2 separate regions of the Homo sapiens genome follow, and region 1 is linked to region 2. The links are contacts of gene promoters, found by promoter capture Hi-C in human tissues and cell types (Jung and others, 2019). All regions are on one chromosome and are shown on one strand. Each heading gives the region's core, a stretch centred on a gene start or on the middle of the fragment in contact. The rest is flanking DNA. Distances are from core to core; before and after follow the strand shown. Region 1 has its middle 11 kb from the start of OR1J1. Region 2 holds the start of OR1L1 (olfactory receptor family 1 subfamily L member 1).

Evidence for each region. The method cuts DNA at HindIII sites, captures the fragments that hold promoters and counts their contacts. A contact is called where the count stands out against the background at its distance.
Region 1: a contact is called between a fragment that was not itself captured here and the fragment with the promoter of OR1L1 in region 2, in 5 of the 25 tissues and cell types used here (dorsolateral prefrontal cortex, heart right ventricle, mesendoderm cells and 2 more).

The regions. Positions count from the first base shown.
Region 1 is chr9:122,486,338-122,491,695 of GRCh38, reverse strand. It overlaps a transcript of OR1J2 not described here. Among named protein-coding and RNA genes, the nearest start is that of OR1J1, 11 kb to the right of the region's middle. The HindIII fragment of the contact is 4,254 bases long and covers 1-3,377 here.
Region 2 is chr9:122,658,186-122,663,060 of GRCh38, reverse strand. It overlaps OR1L1 (olfactory receptor family 1 subfamily L member 1), which reads right to left and starts at 1,345. Exons shown (of 1, transcript NM_001005236.3): 1 at 413-1,345. The coding sequence starts at 1,345. The coding sequence ends at 413. The HindIII fragment of the contact is 8,013 bases long and covers 1-4,634 here.

The DNA.
Region 1 (5,358 bases), core at 1-2,500, 170 kb after region 2:
CCATTCCCACCTTTTATTTGCATTGCTCCTAGTCATGTCACCGAAATCCTCATTATTACTAAATCCAATGAATGGTTTCAGCACTTAACCTTGGCTCTACATTTTTATATTCTCCTTCTCCATCTCTGGTTGTTATTTGATGTCTTTTGGGGGCTTTATTTCTCTGCTACTATCTTAATTGTCAATGTTCCCTGTGGTCTGTCCTCAGCAACTATTCCCTTCCCTTTCCTTGCTTTTCTCCCTTCTCCTTTCCTCTTCTCTCCTCCCTTTCTCTCCCCTCCTTCTTCTTTTTCCTCAGCTTTTACTAACCTCATTTGTTTTCAGGCAATCTCATCCTCCTCTATGTTGACAGTCCATGAATTTCTATCTCTATCCAAAATATATCCACCTGCCTACTAAATTTGTCTCATGGATGACCTATAGGTACCTCATACTCTATGCAATACAACTTCTCAAATCTTTTTCTTCTATATTGCCTTCAGTGAATAGCACAACCATACACTCAGCTGTCCAAGCCATAAATTTAGAGAGGTTTTCAACTCCTTTGTTCTCCTTATTTTCTACATTCTTATCAAAATCAACTCACATCAAAATTACTATATCCATTAGATTCTGACTACGGAGACTTAAATCAATATAGTTCTAACATCATGGTCACTCTCTTATACACACTTTCATAATCTCTTACCTAAATGACTGTCATCTTCTCCTAATGAGTCTCTTTGCTTCTGGTCTTGCATTCCACTACCCCATGCCTGCTCTGCCAACATGTCCTCTGCCCACTGCAAACACATGCTCATTATCCACTCCTGAACTATACCAACTGTGTTTAGTATGATTGTCAATCTGCTGATCAAGTCCTTCCATGGCTCTTTCTTTCCTTTTGAGTAATATGCAAATTCTTCAATATGGCTTCTAAGGTCCTGCATGATTTATTCCTTCTAGTTTCTCTGGACTCATCCTGAACCTCTTCCCCTGTTCAAGTGTACATTTTAGCCACTCTAATTTTTCTGACAATTGTTTCCTAAATTTGCCATCCTTTCTCTTCTGTAGGTCTTTTCCTATTCCTCTGTTTCTCTCCCTTTCACTGCTCTGCCTCTATGTTGTTGACATCACCTTCTACTTGTTTTGATTTTCTTGAGTTTCTGCTTACTTGTAACTTTCTACAAGCCTACTTGCTGTTCTGTGTGGGAAACGCATGAGGGGAGAAGAAAAGACACACACAAAATACCTTTAAGGGTAAACAAGCTTTATCCCACGTAAATGGCAATGCAGATATAACAAGCCAATGATATAATAAGCAAATTGATATAATAAGCAAGTTGCAATGGGAAGGGGATAAAGGAAAAGAGATATATATATATTTACACTCACCACCCCACATTGGATGGGGAGATGCATTTGGGGATGGCCATTAATTCCATTCACCATCTGGGATAATATTCCCTCCCCAGTAATCTAGATGCTTACAAACATCACTGGTTATGAATGTGCCAGACTCCCTGATGATGGTACCCTATCACAGTATTCTCCCCTGCCACCAGTACAATCCTGCTTCAGCAACAAATTAAAATATTAAGCTTACATGTAGAAAAAGCTCTTAATGATAGTAGCACTGGACTTATGTTATCAGATGAATTTGCTCAGCCGTGCACTGTTGTGTTGCAAAATCGAGAGGCATTAGATATGCTTACCACAGCCCAAGGAGGGGTTTGTGCCTTACTGCATACTAAATGTTATGTGTCTATCCCTGACAATTCTCACAATATTACTCTCCTTGCAAAGCTATCGTAGGTGTGGTTTTTATTAATTGCGTTTTTAATTCTCCTGTGCTTACCATGTATCTGTAATCTATCAACTGTGCCTTCCCCATGTATCTGTAAGGGTATTTTCCTACAACTGAGTATCAAATTGAGGCCCAATGTGGAGAAAAAGTTAAATATTAAATTTGAACTCAATTGAACGTGGACACAAACAATGGTCACCAAGTCCGGGAACAGGTTGTGTGAGCCCCTTGAGGCATTCATCCAGCACTGTTTCGGAGAAATCTCTATTTCAATCTATTCCTATACATTGGTTATTGAAAAACAATAGATAATTGCAAAAACAAGTTGATCTTTTTGTGTTCCTTGAGCCCAGTCGCAAAGGGCCCTCGTCACTGGGCCTCATGCAAAACAACTTCTTACAAAAAGAGCTAGGGTCCCAGACCCTAGCACCGAAGCTTCATGAAACCTCTCCTTGTCTGTGCACGGACAAGTGGCCGACTCTGGAGCCCAGGCTGTTTCTTCCCAGTCTGGTGGTGAATCCTCCACAGTCTGGTGAGTTTTGTATCTGACTCTGGAACCCAGGCTGTTGCTTTCCAGTCTGGTGGTGAATCCTCCGTAGTCTGGCGAGTGTAAATATATATATATATATTTATATATGGAATAAAGGAATGGTGTGTGTGTCTTTTCTTCTCCCCTCATAAGTTTCCCACACAGAACACTTGCTTGATGCCTTTAATTTGGGTTTGATGCCCCCCTTTGTGTTCCCACAGCACTCGGCTCTTACCTTCATTACAGTGTCTGATGTGGACGGTTTTGTCGATCTCATTCAATGGATTGGGAACTCTTTGGGGACAGAAAATTGTGTTTTCCCATGGACACAGAGATGGGAACATCACACACCAGGGCCTGTCAATGGGTGGGGGGGTTAGGGGAGGGATAGCATTAAGAGAAATACCTAATGTAGACGATGGGTAATGGGTGCAGCAAACCACCATGACATGTGTATACCTATATAACAAACCTGCACATTCTGCACATGTACCCCAGAACTTAGAGTATAATAAATTTTAAAAAAAGAAACTTGTGTTTTCTTTACTTACAGTGCCTCACAAAATTCTTGCCACATCATATTTATACAATATTCTTCTGAATGAGTAAATGAATGCACAAATTATTCAAAGAAATAATGAAAAAAGCAATCTCCTCCACTTAATTCTCCGTCTCTTTTATATTTTTGCCAACCTGAATGTAGCAGGTTTCTGAAGATTCTCACACTCATTTTTATGGTCAAAGAATACTTTTTGAGCCCTGAGTCTGTTCCAACTATTATTATGTGTCATCACTAACCAAAAATAAATCCTGCATGTATTCAGGTGTTTCCCATGAGGAAAATAAATCTCTAGTCCTTGAAAAGTGTTCTTAATCCTCAGGGACTAGTAACACCTCTCCTTCCAGTTCCAAATTGAATGTGGGAAGGAGGAAGTCTGTATAGGCCAGGAGCGGTGGCTCACGCCTATAATCCAGGCACTCTGGGAGGCTGAGGCGGGCAGATCACCTGAGCTCAGGAGTTTGAGACCACCCTGGGCAACATGGCAAAACCCCATTTCTACTAAAAATACAAAAAATTAGCTGGACGTGGTGGCACACACCTGTAATTCCAGTTACTTGGGAGGCTGAGGCATGAGAATCACTTGAACCCAGGAGGCAGAGGTTGCAGTGAGCTGAGATCATGCCACTGCACTCCAGCCTGGGCAACAGAACTGTCTCAAAACAAAAATAAAACAAAAACAAAACAAACAAACAAAAAACCCAAAAGAATTATTTAAAATATAGAGCTCACTAATATAAGGGAGGCAACATGGAAGAAAGCCTAGAATGAAACCAGGCTTTAGGTTTGAAGTTAATGTGTTTATGTTTGAATACTCATTTAACCATTTACTTTTGAGACATTGTCAAACTCAATAAATGGGAAAAATACTATCTACATCAAATATTATTGTGATGCTTAAAAAATCTTATAGATGTGAAAGTTCTTTATAAATAAAAAAAATCTGTACATAATAAAAGTTCTTATTTATATTCCCATAGGAGTTGACTGTCCTTGGTGTCCGGCAAAGGCACATTTCAACTGGGAATATTAAGGGAAATACAGTAATTAGCCCCTAACTGTGTCTCACCACAGACTTCTGGCACCAGTCCCCTGGGTTCCCATCCAGGCAGGTAAAGGGAGATACTCTTGCTGTAGCCTTGTGGCTGGTGAAAAACAAAGAATGTGCCTCTTCTCCACTTCAGGGTTGAGCTCATGACTTTTCTCACTGTTCCAGCTCTAAGACTTTTGGAGAGAAAATGAATGATTGGTTCATACCAAGGAGCTGACAATATTTGAATTTATCACTGAACTAGGTAAGACCAATGCTTACAGACTCCATTAAGCAGTTTGTGTGTGTGTGTGTGTGTGTGTGTGTGTGTGTTAATCATCTCCTCCAAAATCTTGCAGATGAGTACACATGTGCCAGGTGGTTTATATAATTTTTGTATTACATCAAATAATTTAGGGTGGACATCATTATTATTATTCTCTGGTGTTTGTACTTTCCTCTTTAGGAAAATGTTCTCTCACAGTTTTGCTGAATATCTGGCCTGCATCCCAGCTATGAGCACATTCTTCAAGGTTTAAAAAATAATAATAATCTGCATTTTTATAAATAGTTATAAACATACCTACATGCAATTTCCTATTATGTCCTTTAAAAATTATATCATAAGCTTTTAATGAATTTATTTTATTGACTACATATTCTTTTCAATAATGTGTACCATAGTTGCCTTAACCTTTCCCTTACTGATGGAATATAGGTATCAACAACAACACTGGCCAGGGTCTTATTTGTTTTTTTCCTGGGACCCCGAGAAATTTACTTTCTGGGAAGCTGCCTTCGTAAATCCAGTAACTGATTTCCTGGTTTCTCTATTCTCTTCTGATCATCTGATTAAAGACTGAAGCAATACATCTATGCAAAGGCTTTTAAGAAATTACAGATTCCACCTCTTTAATGACAGGTGCATATCCAGATGTCTTTTCCATCAATGCTCTGCTGGAGGCAATACGACATGATGATTAGCAGCATGAGTTTGAAATCAGACAAACACAGGATTGAATGACCTCCCCATCATTTTCATGATGTAGAATTTTAGGCAAATTATTTATACTCTGTAAACCCTACTTTCCAATTGGTTAGATGAGAATAATGCCATTTTGTGATCCTGTTAGGCTGATATGATATAAATTGCATCACAGCAGCTGGCCTATATTATTATTCACACAATAAATATGTGATTAATGAATGATTGCTATTCTAATTTTTATTATCAGTATTACTGACATCACCATCATGGCACAAATCTTGAAACTATAGATTTTTATTCATCCTTAAACTCTCCAATTTACTTCATGAAATTCTTGAGTGCTCTCAGGCAGCAAATATTGTCCTATTTGAAGATATATTTAATAAGGGCTTTTAATAGAGTGGGAAGAATATAGTCTTTGAAGCCAGATGGACCTGCTATCAATTCCCAGGCTCACAATATACTA
Region 2 (4,875 bases), core at 96-2,595:
ACAGTTCTGACATTTATAATGGGAGAAAGAGAGAGACCTCGTTATTGAGGAGCCCCTGGGCTAATATGATGAAGCGACACACACACACATACACACACACATGCACACACGCACGCACACACACACAGAGTAGCTCAAAGACATTCAAGCAGCTTTACATTACTATACAAGAAAACCCAGCTGCATGAATAGGGATACTCAGGAGATTACAGTGATCCAACTTAGTTTGTAGGCATTATATTCAGGAGTAGCTTCAATACATGCAATAAACATTCTTCTGTAAGGAATGAAACACCATCATTGAAGGTACTATCCTTTCAGAATCTAATAATCATTTCAGAATCACATACCCATTAATAACCTATAGTCCAGGGCAAGAGATCTGTGGTATTCTCTTAAGACCTTAGGTCTTTTACTGACATTTCATCCTGTGCATCAACTTTGCCAAACCCTGCTTCATGTCTTTGTTCCTCAGACTATAGATAAATGGATTTAGCATAGGAGTCAGTACGGTGTAGATAATTGTTGCTATTTGATCCTTGACAGTATAGTTGGACAGGGGCTGAAAATAGAGATAGCTAATGCTTCCATAAAACAGGGTCACCACTGTGAGATGAGAGCCACAGGTAGAAAATGCTTTACGCTTTCCAGCAGCTGAAGGAATCTTCAGAACAGTGATGAGGATTCTTAAATAAGAGATGATGATGCATGAAAACGGGGTCATTATGACAGCCAAGCCTTCTGTCATTACTGTGATTTCTTTGACAAAATGGGAGGAACAGGACAATTTTAGCACTGGTTGATCATCGCAGAAAAAGTGATGGATGACATTTGAGGCACAGAAGATGAGCTGATTAGTCAGAAGAATGTGCAGGAGGGAGTGAAAATGTGGAATGCAGAAGGAGAGAACCAGAAGCAGGACACAGCATCTGTGACTCATAATGGTGATGTAGTGGAAGGGATTACATATGGCCACATAGCGGTCAATGGCCATGGCTGCTAGCAGGTAACTGTCTGTGTTTCCAAAGGCTAAGAAAAAGTACATCTGGGTCAGACACTCACTGTAAGAGATGGTCTTTGTCTCTGATAAGAAGTTCACCAGCATCTTAGGGATAATGACTGTCACATAGCAAATGTCAACAAAAGACAGGATGCTTAGAAAGAAGTACATGGGCGTCTGGAGACGAGTGTCTGAGCGGATGGCCAGGATGATAAGCAGGTTTCCTATCACTGTGATAAGGTAGATGGGGAGGAACACAGCAAAGAGCGGCTTCTGATCCTCAGGTCGAGAGGAGAGTCCAAGGAGGATGAATTCAGAGGGTCTTGTTAGGTTATTTCTTCCCATAGTTGTGGGTTCACCTAAAGATAAACTAACACTGTAACAGATTCTTCCAACATCTGATACAATCTGTCCAAAATTTCTCCTTTTATTCTTCTTATCAGCAAAGAAAAAATTTAAAACATTACAATTATCTGGATTGTGGTTTCTTTCCATTAATGTGGGATATTTAGAAATTAATATATATTTTAATCTCAGTTGCCTGCTATAAAGAAACAAATTACAGGGAAACAGAAATGGGAAAAAGAGAAAAGAAGAGATATAGGGCAAGAGGAAGGAGTGAGTGCAAGAGAATTCCCAGAAGGAGAGGAGGGGAATCCTGGAGAAATTATTCTCTTCTTTTTCTGTATATATTTATCGTATTCACGGTTTTCAGTAATTAGTTTATGACAGGTTTAAAAAAGTTTCATCTCTCAATTTCCAGCTGATGGAATAATGATTTCCCTTAGTTCGGATACTTCTGTCTGCATCAGTTATTCTGGAGGCTGGCAATCATGTAAAAAGACATTGAAATATGAGATTACCCAACAGTTACTCCATTTCCCTCATTTTTTAGTGAAACCTTATTTGAGTGAAAGGATAGGTATGAAGAGGCAAAAGATAGACAGAAATAACAGGATAGTAAAAACATTTCTTTTCCTTATTTTTTTTTTTTTGAGACAAGGTCTTGCTTTGTCACCCAGGCTGGAGTGCAGTGGCACAATCTTAGCTCACTGCAACCTCTGCCTCCTGGGTTCAAGCGATTCTCCCCCCTTAGCCTCCTGAGTAGCTGGGATTACAGGCTTGTGCCACCACACCCAGCTAATTTTTGTATTTTTAGTAGAGATGGGGTTTCACCATGTTGGCCAGGCTGGTCACGAACTCCTGATCTCAAGTGATCCGCCCACCTTGGCCTTCCAAAGTGGTGGGATTACAGGCATTAGTCACCGCACCCGGCCAACATTTCTTTTAATGTAACATAAACCTCATTTTTGTTATCCAGCCCCTAAATGCTAAAATCGTCATTGTTAGTGCATGCTTGTCTGTGTTGGTGTAATTCTTTTCCCAATTCCAGTCTCAGTTATATATATGCTTCCCCAAAAAACCACACAGAGAAGGCACCTGATTCTAGACAAGCTTTCAACCCTCATGAAGCTGAAGATTTTCCTCTCTTCCTCCTCTGGGCCTCCCACATGCTGAAGAGATTAAAGACACTCATAGACCCCACCCTCTGTCAAGGGAGCATCCTTTGAGATCATCAAGAAGTCCCTGGAGTTCAGATGGAGAAGACAGCAGAAAACAAGCCAAGAACTATTACGGTTTTGGAGTTTCTTCCCCAAGGAGCCTGGGGAGTGTCAGTGCCTTCTCTCTCTCTCAGAAATCACCCTCCTGACCTAACTCCTTTTGGTGAAAAAGACCCCACCTGTGTGAGGCTGGCTCAAGTGACAGACTTCCTGAGCCTCACCGCTGTGCTGCTTACATTGAAAGACAGAATGTGGGGTTGGAGAACGTTTTCTCGGAATTCGTTGATCATCAAGCTAAAACAACTAGAACATCTTATGCCACTAGTCACTTTCCCATCTCCCAGTGTTAGAAGCAGTCCCTTGCTAGACACTGTTCTTAGAACTTTAAAATATAATAAGCAATAGGGTTAAGACTTTAGACCCTAGGCCTGGAATCTTTACTCTTCTGTCTGAAGCATCCTTAAGTCTACTTATGTATGACCCTTGCTTCTCACTCAGGAAAGCCATCAGGGCATATATATATAGCGTTAGCTATTAATTTTATTACAGTTGTAACACACAAACATTAAGCAAACCAGATCGATATTTTTATTGTTAAAGCAACTTTCAAAAAAAGTGGTTGGGGCCGGGCGCGGTGACTCACGCCTGTAATCCCAGCACTTTGGGGGGCCGAGGTGGGTGGATCACGAGGTCAGGAGATCGAGACCATCCTGGCTAACACGGTGAAACCCCGTCTCTATTAAAAAAATACAAAAAAATTAGCTGGGCATAGTGGCGGGCACCTGTAGTCCCAGCTACTCGGGAGGCTGAGGCAGGAGAATGGCATGAACCTGAGAGGTGGAGCTTGCAGTGAGCCGAGATCACGCCACTGCACTCCAGCCTGGGCAACAGAGTGAGACTCCGTCTCAAAAAAAAAAAAAAAAAAAGAAGTGGTTGGCCACTCTAGTTTATTGTGTGGATCTGTTTGAAAGTAAGAAAGTAATCCTCACTGGAACCATTCTAGAACTCAGATTGTCATGTATTTGAAATGGCTCCTGCTCTCACTACTTGAAATTTAAGGTGATGTTTGTTTTCCTCCTACAAAGAGATGGCTCTAAGCAGGTGGAAGTGATGGGGGAGGGATTCTGACAGATGAGCTGAATGGATGAGAAGGATAAGGCTTCTACTCTCTTATTTCTTCTTTTCTTTTTTCTTTCATTGTGGTAAGAAAACTTAACATGAGATCTACCCTGTTTACAAATTTTTAGTTCACAGTATCATTAATAATAGGAAAAATGTTGCATAGCAGATTTCTAGGACTTATTCATCTTATATAACTGAAAATATATTTTCCCTGAACACCAATTCTCCATTCCTCCTTCCCTCCAGCCACTAGGGACATATATTTTATATTTTATGGCAATCCATATTTCTGGTCATTTGGGACATCTCACTTTGTGTGTATGATATAATTCTCAAATTAGGACTTAAACTTCCCCATATCCCAGTACAACTGCAATCCAAGGTTATCTGATTCCTTCTGACTCATTGCCCCTCACCCATTTAGACTATTGTGTCTTTGCTTATCCTTTCCTTCATCTATTAAACCTAACCTGCAAGGCTCGAATTCAGCCTCTTCCAGGACACTTTGCTTGATGACTACCAGTTGAAATGGCTTTGTCTCTGTCCCCACTTAACACTTTGGACCTCCATTCTATGCAATATCTCAATCTGTTTGTCTTATTGCTTAAACATTAATTTTTAAAAATCCCAGACAGCAACAATTCAGTGAGTGCTTGCTCTGTGCTAGGCACTCAGCTAAACAAATTAGATGTAATATCTCATCTATTTATCTCAACACCTTAATGAGGTAGGTGGTCTGATTTTCTTTACATTAGAGTTGAGAAATCTGAGCTCAGAGAGGTGAAGTGAGCTATCCAATGTAGAACAGCAAGTAAGCGACAGAATCAGTTTTGAAACATCTCATGAGGTTGTTTAACTCCTGTTTAACTCAGTGCTCTTAACCTGCCACTCTATTGCTTTTTTATGATGCTAGCAAAAAGATTTGGATATCATATGCTGAGTAACAATTCCCAAATAAAGCATAGTGCCAAAAATATAAACTATTTCTTGTTGATTCAAAAAAGCATATTAGTTTAAGCTGTCCCTCCAGACTGCATACTCCTTGAGATCAATAACCATGCCTATTAATATCTGATTGCTCTGATCAATTTATTAGTTCATAGGCATTTATTAAAGGCTTATTATGTGATGGGAATTGTGATGGGTACTGGAGAAACAGTGGAATATAAAATAAAGTCAGTTTCCACCCAT